Regions from separate parts of the Homo sapiens genome. Here regions 1, 2 and 3 are each linked to region 4. The links are contacts of gene promoters, found by promoter capture Hi-C in blood cells and fetal thymus (Javierre and others, 2016). All regions are on one chromosome and are shown on one strand. The core of a region is centred on a gene start or on the middle of the fragment in contact, and the rest is flanking DNA. Distances in the headings are between cores, read along the strand shown. Region 1 overlaps BBS4 (Bardet-Biedl syndrome 4). Region 2 overlaps ARIH1 (ariadne RBR E3 ubiquitin protein ligase 1). Region 3 overlaps ARIH1 (ariadne RBR E3 ubiquitin protein ligase 1). Region 4 holds the start of PKM (pyruvate kinase M1/2).

Region 1 (3,120 bases), core at 337-2,836, 460 kb after region 4:
AGCTAAAAATCTAAGAAGGCTACAGTCAAGGCCTTGAGGCCAGAAGACACCCCATCAAAACTGAGTAAAACTAGCCCAGTGTGGGACGCAGAAATTCTAGTATGCTACCAAAATTACTTACGGATTGCTACCAGTTCCTTAGAAGGAAAACTGAGGACTAATATTTGTATTTTCAGTATAGTTTAGAATTCTTAAAAAATGAGCAAACAGGCTGTACTTGGTGGCTCATGCCTGTAATGCCAGGACTTGTGGAAACTGAGGTGAGAGGATAACTTGAGTCCAGAGGTTTGAGACCAGTCTGGGCAACATGTTGGAGCCCCATTTCTACAAAAAACACAAAAATTAGCCAGACGTGGTGGCACGCGCCTGTCTTCCCAGCTACTGGGGAGGATCATCTGAGCCTGGGGGAAGTTGAGGCTCCAGTGAGCCATGATCATGCCACTGGACTCCAGCAGGGGCAGAGTGAGACTTTGTCTGAAAAAAACAAAAAATGAATGAGCAACTAACTCTGGCTTTCATGATTTGTGCTTATAAATCTTTTTATTTATTTATTTATTTATTTATTTATTTATTTATTTATTTATTTTGAGACGGAGTCTTGCTCTGTCGCCCAGGCTGGAGCGCAGTGGCGCGATCTCGGCTCACTGCAACCTCCGCCTCCCGGGTTCACGCCATTCTCCAGCCTGAGCCTCCGGAGTAGCTGGGACTACAGGCGCCTGCCACCACGCCCAGCTAATTTTTTGTATTTTTAGTAGAGACGGGGTTTCACCGTGTTAGCCAGGATGGTTTCAATCTCCTGACCTTGTGATCCGCCCGACTCAGCCTCCCAAAGTGCTGGGATTACAGGCGAGCCACTGTACCCAGCCTATAAATTTTTTTTATAATGCCCTGATTCCCATTATTTGATGTATTTGGATAAATATGTCATCCTGTAAATTGAAGGATTAAACTGATAAGAGCAGAAAACAGAAATTAGTACACTAGTTGATCTGGCTCAGATATAGTGCCTATGTATCAGGTGCTCCATGAATATTTGTTGGATGAATAAATGATCATAAAACTATATAAAAATGAAGAAATAACAGAATAAAATAATTTGTTCTATATAAATCCTATGAATGAGATTGAGTGGGCTAATAGAATCCTTTCCATCTCAAAATGTTCTGGAAAGTCTTGAGTAAAAGACTCATCAAAAAAATAATTCTGCTTTGTGCAGAAAGAAGGGTTGCTGACCTTTGAAGGTGCTTTTTGAGTCTTTAACATTCTTTAGTAGTATATTCCCCAAAGTTAAGAAATTCTAGTTAGATTTTAAAAAATTGAGTTAACATTTAAAAAACAGTTTTGTTGAGGTATAATACACGTACCATAAAATTTACTCAATTTAAGTACAAAGTTTGATCAGTTTTAGTAAATTTATATAGTTGCACAGCTGTCATCAGAGGCTGCTTTTAAAACATGTCCATCACTCCAGAAGGGTTCCTGTGTCAATGGAATTGCTGGGTTATATTGTTTAAGTATTTGTTTAAAAAAACAGAAACAAATCTGCCTAACTTCTGCAGGCTATATACGAGTTAACATTTCCATGAGCAATGCATGAGGGTTGTGATTTTTCCACATCCCTGTCAACACTTGGTTTGTCAGTTTGTTTTTATTTAGCTGTTGTAGTGGATGGGTAGTGATGGTGTATGGTGGTTTTAATTTGTATTTCCTTCATGAATAATGATATTGAAGATTTTTTATATGTTTATTTTCCACCCGTATCTCTTTGGTGAAATGTCTTTATAAATTTTTGTGAATTTTTAAATCAAGATCATTAACCAAATGAGCCCCTCATTTGGGCTCAAGTGATCCTTCCACCTCAACCTCCCGAGTAGCTGGGACCACAGGTGCAGGCCACGCTTGGCTAATTTTTGTATATTTTGTAGAGGCGGGGTTTTGCCATGTTGCCCAGGCTGGTCTTAAACTCCTGAACTCAAGCAATTGGCCTGCCTCACATAAGTATTCTCTTTTATTTTGAGGATTAATTTTTGTTGTTGTGAAATATATCCTACCTGTAAAAGAGTGCTTAAAATGTCGTATGTGTGCTTTAAAGGATAATATAATGGAAACTTGTGTTCCTACTGCCCAGGTTAGGAAATGGGTTATTAATAACTTTGAAACCTCCTAAATGCCTCTCTCCTACTGCATTTTCCTTCCTCCACATCAGATGTAGTGTTTCTTCAATTTTATATTAATATTTTGTACTTTTTATAGTTTTACCATATATGTTTATATATATCCTTAATATATTAGTTTTTAAAATTTGTTATTAACCTTCAGTTTATTCATTATTTCAACACTGTATAGTATCTTATTGTAGTAAAGTATGTCAATTAACTTATCCATTCCACTAGATGGAGATCGGGATTATTTCTGGTTTTTAGTTATTAAAAACAATGCTGCTGCTGGGTGCAGTGGCTTACGCCTGTAATCCTAGCACTTTGGGAGGCCGAGGCTGCGGATCATGAGGTCAAGAGATCGAGATCATCCTGGCCAACATGGTGCAACTCCGTCTCTACTAAAAATACAAAAATTAGCAGGATGCGGTGCTGCGCGCCTGTAGTCCCTGCTACTCGGGAGGCTGAGGCGGGAGAATCACTTGAACCCAGGAGGCGGAGGTTGCAGTGAGCCGAGATTGTGCCACTGCACTTCAGCTTGGCAGAGCGAGACTTCGTCTCAAAAAAAAAAAAAAAAAAAGCTGCTATAAATATGGCCAAGACTAAGGAAAGGTAAGTGAGGTGCTTAGGGTTCACATTTTATGGAGTAAGAGTAAGTACCTTCTTAAGGTTTATACCCTAGGTTCTTCACATGCCTCACTTTAGTCCTAGCCCTGAGCATTATTATGTAGGTCTTCTGATGCAATATCTAAGAGTTTCTCTAAGGTATACCTAGAAATAGATTGCTAGGTAATGGAGTAACTTTATTACTTACAGGAAACTATATGGTGGTTGTAACAATTTATGCTTCTGCCACCAGTCATGGTGGATATGAAATTATGTCTTAATGTGATAATTTACATTGCAATTTTTTTTTTTTTTTTTTTTTTTTTTTTTGAGACAGAGTCTTGCTCTGTCACCCAGG
Region 2 (3,139 bases), core at 37-2,536, 260 kb after region 4:
GAGCTTATTACTAATGCCGTTTAACTTCAAATGTGAGAAAATATGTTTACTTTTTAACCTGTTCACCACTTCACCTCTTATGAAGGGGAAAACTTAGGGAGTGGGCCTCAAATTACTTGTCATTTAATTTGGAAATGTTCCTTTGAAATTTGGAAACGTATGTACATAATTTTAGTCACTGATTTGTTACAGAATTTTTAAATGTAGTAATTACATTTCATTGGCCCTAAAAATGTTGTCTGTTTTTAATAATCATCTCTAATTGTATTGCATTAATATAATAGCTGGGTCCTTAGGATATATGATAATGTATGAAGCTTGATTATAATGTTGCATTCCACCCAGCTATAAAGCCAAAGTGGTGAAAATAGGACTTTTAAATATACAGAAGTATTCTAGTCACCCTTAGGAATGAAAGTATAACATTAAGCAATATTTGAAGATTTAAGGATGGCAGTAAGCTTGCCTAATCTTTGATTCATACCACTGTCAACACAGTTTTTGATTCATGTAGAGTCAAATTAACAAGGTTGGAAGGATCCTAATGGTTATCCTAGCCAACCACATATCAAGTACTACCTCCCTGGTAAGTGGTCCTGTAGACTATTCTTAAATGTCTACTCTGGCTAAACCTTCACAGCCACTTCCAGAAGACCTCTGATTTAGAGTTCTTTCATACTCTGATTTTGTCTTCCTGTAGCTTTTTACCTGAACCTACCTGGTTCTAACCCTTCTCATGATAGCGATTCTATAATTTTAAAGACTTATTTAACATATTGGAGACTAGCAGTGCAATAACCTAATCCAGACTAACACTTTTTGGGGGGGGAGGTCAGAACCCAGAATAAAGCTGCTGCTTATTCTGGGTTTACTTCTTATGGATTGTTGATTAGAAAGATTATTCTGCACTGGTATTTTGGATTGAGGCCTGTGCATGTCTGTTCAGGCAAAGTTTACATAAGGTAGAACACTACAGCAGCACATGTGCACCCTGCTCAATTAAATAAATATCAGGCAGATCTGTTTGTTCATACCCTCATTGCAGATACTGAAGGGTTGGTGGGTTTTGCAGTAACGAATGAATAATTCATCTTGATATTACTATATTAATAGTTTTGGGTTCTGTATATTTCCTCCGACTCAGAATTTACAAAAATAAAAGCACTTTCTAGACAGTTAACTAGTTAGCTCTGAGTAGAATGTTTTCTACTACCTTTTTAAAGATTCTAGATCATTTTGAGCAAAGAATATTGAAATTGCATTGCAAACTTATCTTTGTGAATCAGGTTTTTCTTCATTCTATGTACAAAACAAAATATAGAAATAAGATGTATACTGAGCTTTTCTCCATAACCTCAGATTTTTTTTAAAAAGTTAAAACAGTCTTAGTATGCTAAGAGTGACTGTTTATAAACTTTTTTAAAGGATTTTAAATTTTTTATTGTTTGTGCATACATATATTTTCTTGGTTCAAATTCAAAAAGCACAAAAGATTTAAAAAAAACATATATATCTGCCTTTATACCTCAACTACGTGGTTCCCTCCCTCACAGTATTATTGATGTCTTAGTACTTTTCTCATAAATGCAGAACCCTTCCCTAACCTGATTTTTATATTTCTTATAAGATCCTAAATAATCGTGTTATAGTTTATGAATTTCTGAGGTTAGTGGGTCCCTAAATATAATGCTTCAGTTTAATTGGGAACCATTTGTAAATTGAGTACTTGATTTATTTTTATCAGCTGAGATTTCTTTAGCTGCCACACTGCTGGGGGAATACAGATAATGGACAACTCTTTAAGAAATAATGTATAAATAAATTATAATGCGACGCTTTGTTTCATAGTAGAAGCATAAGGTCGAGAAGGAATATTTAATGCTCTTCTCTGGGAGGACCGACTTGCTGGTAGGAATGGAAGCTGAATTTTGAAAAATGAATGGTAGCTTACTAGGCAGATGGGGTTAGAGGTGGCATTCCAGACAAAGGAGGAAGAGGAATGGAAGAAGTTGTGGTATGTTGAATGAACAATAAGGAATTGAATATTGCTGAAATTACTGGGAAGTAGAGTGGTAGGAGCTGGGGCTAGACAGGCAGTGTGATCAGATTATGAAAGCTTTTAGCGTAGTGCTGTTGAGATGGACTTAATTCACTAGGACTACGTGAAACAACTTTAAACTTTTAAATTAATAAGGAATTAGAGTTTAAAAGGCCACTCTGTTGGTACTATAGGAAATAAATGAGAACAGGACGGGATTAGGAAACTGGGAGAGTAGTGAGTAATCCATTAGAATAACCTGTGAAAGAAATGGGTTAGCAAGGCTGGAATGGAGGAGGGAAGGCATTCAAGATACCGTGAGAAATGATGAATTATTAGGAAAAAAAAAAAAAACTTAGTGATTAAGTCTTTGGTGTCATTTAGAACCACATTCAGTTCCAGCTTTGCCTTTTACCAGCTCTGTGACTTCGTATGTAAATTTGATTTTAATAAATTCTGTTTCATCATCTGTGAGTATTGTAATTGTGTAGTTGAAGCTTTAAGCAACTTTCATTTAACTAACTTGGTGAATAGTTAATAGTTGCTCTCCATTCCCTCAGTAAAAGAGACCTAGGGCAGTGTTCATGACAGGCTCTCAGCTTGTCGGCCTAAGTGGCAAAATTAACCAGTCACGATAGCCCTTATACTGTGTGGTATCATTTATACAAAATGTCCTGAATTGGCAAATCTATAGAGATAGAAAGTAGATCAGTGGTTGTCAGAGGCTGAGTGGGGGAAATGGGGCGTGACTGCTAATGAGTATAGGGTTTCTTTTTAGGGTGATGAAATGTTCTAAAATTAATGGTTGACACAACTGTCACAATTCTGTGAATATAATCAAAACCACTGAACTACTTTTGAGAGTTAATTTCATGGTATATCTCAAGTTGTCACAGAAAAAAAGTCTAATTCAGTATTCCCCATTTGTCCAATACGTCTTTTATAGCTTTTCTTCTTTTGGTCAAGGATCATGGATTGCATTTGGTTATCATGTCTCTTTATTTGTCCATGTTCTTGATGGGTTAAAATAATAAAGAATATACAAATGGTTAGATCTCCTATAAACAAAAGAATATACAAATGGTTAGATCTCCTATAAAC
Region 3 (2,896 bases), core at 114-2,613, 330 kb after region 4:
AAAATAGTATATATCTCTTTCAGAATTGAATGAAAAGGTCACATCTTAAAAAAATTTTTCCTCTTTCCTTGATGTTCTAACTTTTTTGAATTTTTTTTTATGGAGAAAATATACAACTCTAATCATATCTTCCTGTATGCTCCACTGTAACTTAATGGGAGCAAACTTGTAGATCTGGGACTATACGTTTTTCTTTACTCTGCCAAATTTTAACCTTACTTATGCAAAGGAAATGTGCAGGTAAATTCTGCTGATGGTCTCCTTTTTAACTAAGAGTTTTCCTGTGGCTCCTCTCGCCCAGCTTTCTTGGTAACTTGGGCTTTTGGAGTTCTATAGTATACTCTTCAGCCTCTGAATTCTAGATTTGAACTGCCAGGAAGTTTCCAGTGCCACATATTAGGGGATGTCTTAATCAGTTCAGGCTCCTTTATAGGTGTTCTAGTTTTTTCCAAAGTGGATAGGCTGAAAATTTTTCAAATTTTTGACTTCTTATTTCCTTTTGATGAACAGTTTATCTCTAGGTCATTCATCTCTTCTTGCATTTTCTATAAACATTCAAGAGAAGCTAAGCTGCGTCTTCAACACTTTGCTTAGTAATTTCCTCAACCAGATATTCAGTTTCATTTCTCTACCTTCCACAAAACAATTCAGCCAACTTCTTTGCCACTTTATAGCAAGGATGGCCTTTCCTCTAGTTTCTAACAGCATGTTCCTCATTTTCATCTGAGACCTCATCATAATGGCCTTTACTGTCCATATTTCTAACAACATTCTGTTCATGGCCATTTATTTAGGTTTTCTCTATGATTGAGGCATTCCCTGCACTTCTGTCTTTCTGAATCCTCACCAGAATTACCCTTAACAATTCAGTTCATTCACAGTGATCTAGGCTTTTTCTAGCTTGCACTTCCAAGCTCTTCCAGCCTCTACTTACTACCTAGTTTCAAATCGGCTTTCACATTTTTGGTTTTGTTAGAACAGCACCCTCACTTCTTGGTACCATTTTCTGTCTTAATGTTCAGGCTTTTATAACAAAAGACCATAAACTGGGCGGCTTCTAAACAACATAAATTTATTTCTTACAGTTCTTAAGGGTGAGAAGTCCAAGATCAAGGTGCCAAAAGATTTGTTGTCTGGCGAGGGCCTGCTTTTCTGGTTCATAGATGGTGCCTACTTGCTGGGTCCTCATATGGTGGAAAGGACAAGGCAGCTCTCTGGGCCCCTTTTTTTTTTAAAAAGGATGCCAATTCCATTCACCTCCTAAAGGCTCCACATCCTAATACTGTCACATTGGTTATTAAGTTTTAACATACACATTTTAGGGGGACACAAACATTTATATCCTGCTAGAAGTTAAGATGATTTTCTGTTCCTTTGAGGGTCTTGAGGAGTAAGAAGCCAATCAAGTCAAGGGGCTCTAGACCCAGCAAATAGATTTTTTGTTTTGTTTTGTTTTGAGAGAGGGTCTCACTCCATCACCCAGGCTGGAGTGCAGTGGCACGATCTCGCACTGTAACCTTTGCTTCTCAGGTTCAAGTGATTCTTGTGCCTCTTGAGTAGCTGGGATTACAGGCGTGTGCCACCACGCCTGGCTAATTTTTATTTATTTATTTATTTGTTTATTTATTTATGTATTTATTTTTAATAGAGACAGCATTTCACCTTGTTGGCCAGGCTGGTCTTGAACTCCTGGCCTCAAGTAATCCACCTGCCTCGGCCCTCCCTAAGTGCTGGGATTACAGGTGAGAAGCACCATGGCCAGCCAGATTTTCTTTTTTGCTGCGGGGTGGTTTGGAGGGGGAAATATTTTATTGGTATTCCATACCTTTCTTTTTTTCCTCCAAACATCTATAGAATTACACTTAACACATCATTAATAATAAATATTTCCAAAAAGAGCAGGTAAGCTCACAGAGATTAAGTATGTGTAAAATACATACTGTTTCGATAAAGATTAATTATGTATTGTTATTTTAGAGAAAAGGTGGATAATACCTACTTTCCAATGTATTTTTAGCGTGACACATTTCAAACATAAAAGTATAGAGAATACAGCAGTGAATACCTATATAGCTACAATCCAGTTAAATCAAAATTAGTATTTTGTTTTTCTTCATTAAGAGATAAAACATGACACATATATTTGAAGCTCCTTGGTTCCCTGCTCCTTCCCATTCCCCATCTTTCTTTTCAGAAATAACCATTTATCTTAACCTGATTTAAATCAATAGTAGTTTGTTTCTGTCTTTAGCAAAGGACTTTTTGCCATTCGTAAATTACTTAATTAGCTAATTAATCTGTCATTTTATTATTTTTTTCTTAAGCATTTGTGTTTGTTAATTATACTTCTTTTACAAGTGTATATGTCATGAACTTAGAAAACAAAAGTGAATTACTGATTAACACATGTTTAGTGAGTATTTAGTCTTTTTGTTTTATACCTTGCCCAGTACCATTTCCCTCTACAGGGCGGAGGTTCATTTGTTTAAATAATGCAAAGATGTGACCTATTTGCTTCCCATATATTGTTTACTGTGTATTAGTACTAAATTATATAAGTAACCTACAAAGTCAGCCTTTTATTCTTCATTTAGGGTGTTAAGTAAAAGATTAAAAATGCACTGATGAAGCATGGGTTGAAACTTCTCAATATAGTCTGAGGCACCTTAGCAACAATTATTATGAAATTGTCATCAAAGCGTGTCTTCATGCTTATAGTCATTCTTCACACATATTGAGTACCCACTATGTGCTAGTTCTACTACTAAATTCTAGGTAATTAACTGTAAAGCAGACATGGGTTCTCTCCTTGTATTTGCCAGTCACTAGAAACTAGTGACAATACTGTGGAACTATAAGGCATGAAATGATTGGCTTATTTACTTGCTTACAGTAG
Region 4 (3,100 bases), core at 206-2,705:
CTCGTCTAGTCATCCTGGTCTCTAACTCTGACCCCCAAACAGCCCTTGACCCACACCGTTTGCGTTCAGTGAACGCGACAGATTTCCTGCCCCCTCCGTAACCAGATCCCCACCCCACCCCGCGGCCTCCGCGTTCCACAATCAGGACGCATTTGTTAAAAAATGTGCCGGATAATTAAAAAAAAAAAAAAGAAAGAAAAAAGAAAGGAAAAGAAAGAAACGTGCCGGAGAGGCGCGGAACGGGCGAGGGCCAGGAGGCCCCAGCAAAGCCTGCAGAGGTTTATCCCGCCCGTTACGAGGCCCAAGGCCATCGCCCGGTGAAGCGGGGTGGGCCCTGGGCGCGGCCGCTACGTGCAGCCCGGCCGCGGCGAGATGGAGCGTGGTCCCTGGCGGCCACCCGGCAAGGGCCGGTCGAGCTCTCGGGCCCCGAGCCATTCCCAGGCCCTCGCAGGCCGCCCATCTAATCCCGGCCACAGGGGACGGCACCGCGCCGCAGGGGCAACCGCCCTGCCTCCCGGCAGCGGGGCAGGCCAACGTTACGTAAGTCTCCAGCTGCCCCCGGGCCGCCGCATCCCGCCCGCCGCGCGGGGCACCCAGCCCAGCCCTCCGCCCGCCCGCCCCGGACACGGGGCCTCAGCACCGCCCGAGCCTGCTGGGAGCTGGGAGGCGGTGATGGAAAAGGGGGGTGGGACCGCGCTCGGAGACCGGAGCAAGTGGGCGGGCGCGACCAGAGCAGAGAGGGAGGGAGGGAGCGGACACGCCAGGCGAGGAAGGGGATGCGGGGGAGCGGACGTGACCAGCAAGCAGGGGGAGGGGCGGCGAGAGGGAACTGGGGCGCGGGAAGGGCGGTCGCGCATGAATGGAGAATGGACGCGGGAGGGGAACCAGAACGCAGTTTCAATGAGTTACACAGAAAGCATTAGAATCAGGGGACACGCACAGCTTGAAGAGGAGGGGGTGGAAGGACCAGACTTAAGGAGGAAGAGGGGAAAACGAGCACGGAACAGGCGGCGCGGAGAAAGGGGAAGCAAGGGTGGAATCAATCACGAGGGACCGAGAGAAGGCAGGCGAGGATGGAGGCGCATTGAGGATTGGGGCAGGAGGAAGAGGATGGGACCAGAATGAGGGGGTAGGGCTGGGGCGGGAAAGGAGCCGGCGGACCCGCCTGATCTGGAAGGAACGGCGCTGGGGACTTCTGAAGAGCAGGCCCCAGGCGTGAGGAGCCGTTCTCCTCTCTCTGAGCTCCACTGCATCCCAGACGCCCTGGATCCTGCGCCGCCCTGCCTGCGTGCCCGGGGCCGGCCGGCGCGCCGGGATTCCGCACTAGCCGGGCGACTGGCCCTTGGTGGGGACTGATGGCGTAGCCTCCTGCACCGCTCACCTCCGGCGCTGACCGACTCGGGCTACGCTGCAAAGACGAAGAGATCCGGAGCCACGGCGCGTGCAGCTGCTGTGCAAGGAGCCACTGCCTCAGCCTCAAGGTTATCCCGCTGCGGGCCGCCGCAATCCCTCCGCCGCCCCGCCCTCTGCCCAATCCCGGCTCCGGGCGACCCGGGCCCCGCCCCCTGCGTCCCCGCGGGCGCAGTCACCTTCAGGAGGAAGCGCGGCGGCGGCGGCGGAACGCGCGGGCAGGTTGCCCTTTCGGTGGGACTAAATTCTGCGGCGGAAGGACACAGATTCAGAGTCACATTTTAAGAAACCTGATGACCAATGGGGACGCGGCGGGGCAACGGGGCCCGCCCCCGGAGCGACTTTCCTCCCAGACCCCCGGGCGCCGGGCCACCTGTTGCCGCCAAGTTGGGCTGCCAGATGGGGTGTCTTTTCTTGGCTCTCGGCCCAGGCCACCCCAGCTGTCCCGGCCTACCTGGGCAGGGCCCAGATTTATGGGTTCCGGGGCAGCATTCTCCCGGCCCCGCCCTGCCACTCCCCACTCCTCCGGGTGTCTGCTCTGGCGCACCCTCGGAGACTGAGCTGAACGGAAAGTTGGGGAGAGCTGCAGACTTGTGCGTGGTTGGAGGTCCTGGCCGCCTTCGGAGGGGCTCTGGCACTGGAGCGGCAGTAGGGAGAACTAGGGACTGCGAAGTGGGCCTGGAGCGGGAGCGCGAGGCCGTTTTCCTCTTAGGACCATTCATTGTGTTAGGACCGCGGAACAAGGAAGGACCGGTTGGGGCCATGTGAATAATTTAGTAGGGTCTGGAATCCTGCAGAGCGAATGCCTCAGAGTAGAAAGTAAATAGACGGTGTTGATATTAGCGCAGAGCTGGGCATCTGGAAATATCAAGTCAGAACATTAGGGCCGATAACCTATGCAGGAGTCAGCATTTCTGTTTTCACCTTTGTCGTGTTTAAGTCAGTATTGTTGGAACTTTTCTTACATTTTTCTACAAGACATTTTCTGATTTCCCAGTTGTTAGCCAGCAACTAATGATGCGAGCAGTTATCAATTAAACAGCTGTTAACTCTTGCCTTCATTCACAGATACAATGTTGCGCATTCAAAATGTGAAGACCGTTCTCTTAGGTTCTTTTTTTATTTTCCTGGCAAAAGAGACCAAATGGGTGTGACCTGCTCAGGCATACCCGCTGCCTGCAGCTGAATCACAGGCCTTCATTCGCTTCCTGTTAGCTCAGATAAGCTGGGAGGAGACAGTGACAGCCTAAAAGTAAATTTCTGTTTGAAGTGAGATAAAAATCTTTCACTTTCTTCTGTAAGTCTTTCCTGGTCCCTTTAGTTGTTGTTGGGAAGGAAATGCTTGATTATTAAGGTGGTGAAAGAACATGAAGTTGTTGAGAAGGAAAAAAGACATGCCCCCCTAGGGAGGGTTAGATTCCTCTCTATCAGAGAAAGAGGGATGGCATAAAAGTCCCTCCCTGGCCCCTGAGCTGAGGACAAACTAAGAACAGTGGTGGACAACACTGGGATGGCAAGGATCTGGCCGATGCTGGACTATATTGTATTTTAAAGTTCTAAATTGTCTGGGTGCAGTGGCTCACGCCTGTAATCCCAACACTTTGGGAAGCCGAGGCCGGCGAATCACATGAGGCCAGGAGTTGAGACCATCCTGGCCAACGTGGCGAAACCCCGTCTTTACTAAAAATAC

The links. Contacts are between HindIII fragments. The CHiCAGO score rates a contact against its expected background, and 5 or more counts as called.
Region 1: a fragment that was not itself captured here is called in contact with the fragment with the promoter of PKM in region 4 in 1 of 17 cell types (neutrophils); the score reaches 5.5 in neutrophils.
Region 2: a fragment that was not itself captured here is called in contact with the fragment with the promoter of PKM in region 4 in 1 of 17 cell types (neutrophils); the score reaches 5.2 in neutrophils.
Region 3: a fragment that was not itself captured here is called in contact with the fragment with the promoter of PKM in region 4 in 2 of 17 cell types (monocytes and activated CD4 T cells); the score reaches 5.2 in monocytes.

Annotation. Positions count from the first base shown.
Region 1 is chr15:72,689,242-72,692,361 of GRCh38, forward strand. The region is part of intron 1 of BBS4 (Bardet-Biedl syndrome 4); the gene reads left to right. Among named protein-coding and RNA genes, the nearest start is that of BBS4, 4.6 kb to the left of the region's middle. The HindIII fragment of the contact is 7,938 bases long and covers 1-3,120 here.
Region 2 is chr15:72,492,449-72,495,587 of GRCh38, forward strand. The region is part of intron 1 of ARIH1 (ariadne RBR E3 ubiquitin protein ligase 1); the gene reads left to right. Among named protein-coding and RNA genes, the nearest start is that of ARIH1, 20 kb to the left of the region's middle. The HindIII fragment of the contact is 1,655 bases long and covers 460-2,114 here.
Region 3 is chr15:72,563,627-72,566,522 of GRCh38, forward strand. The region is part of intron 7 of ARIH1 (ariadne RBR E3 ubiquitin protein ligase 1); the gene reads left to right. Among named protein-coding and RNA genes, the nearest start is that of MIR630, 22 kb to the right of the region's middle. The HindIII fragment of the contact is 4,063 bases long and covers 1-2,896 here.
Region 4 is chr15:72,229,735-72,232,834 of GRCh38, forward strand. It overlaps PKM (pyruvate kinase M1/2), which reads right to left and starts at 1,456. Exons shown (of 11, transcript NM_002654.6): 1 at 1,382-1,456. RefSeq lists silencers at 328-837, 1,398-1,897. The HindIII fragment of the contact is 11,333 bases long and covers 1-3,100 here.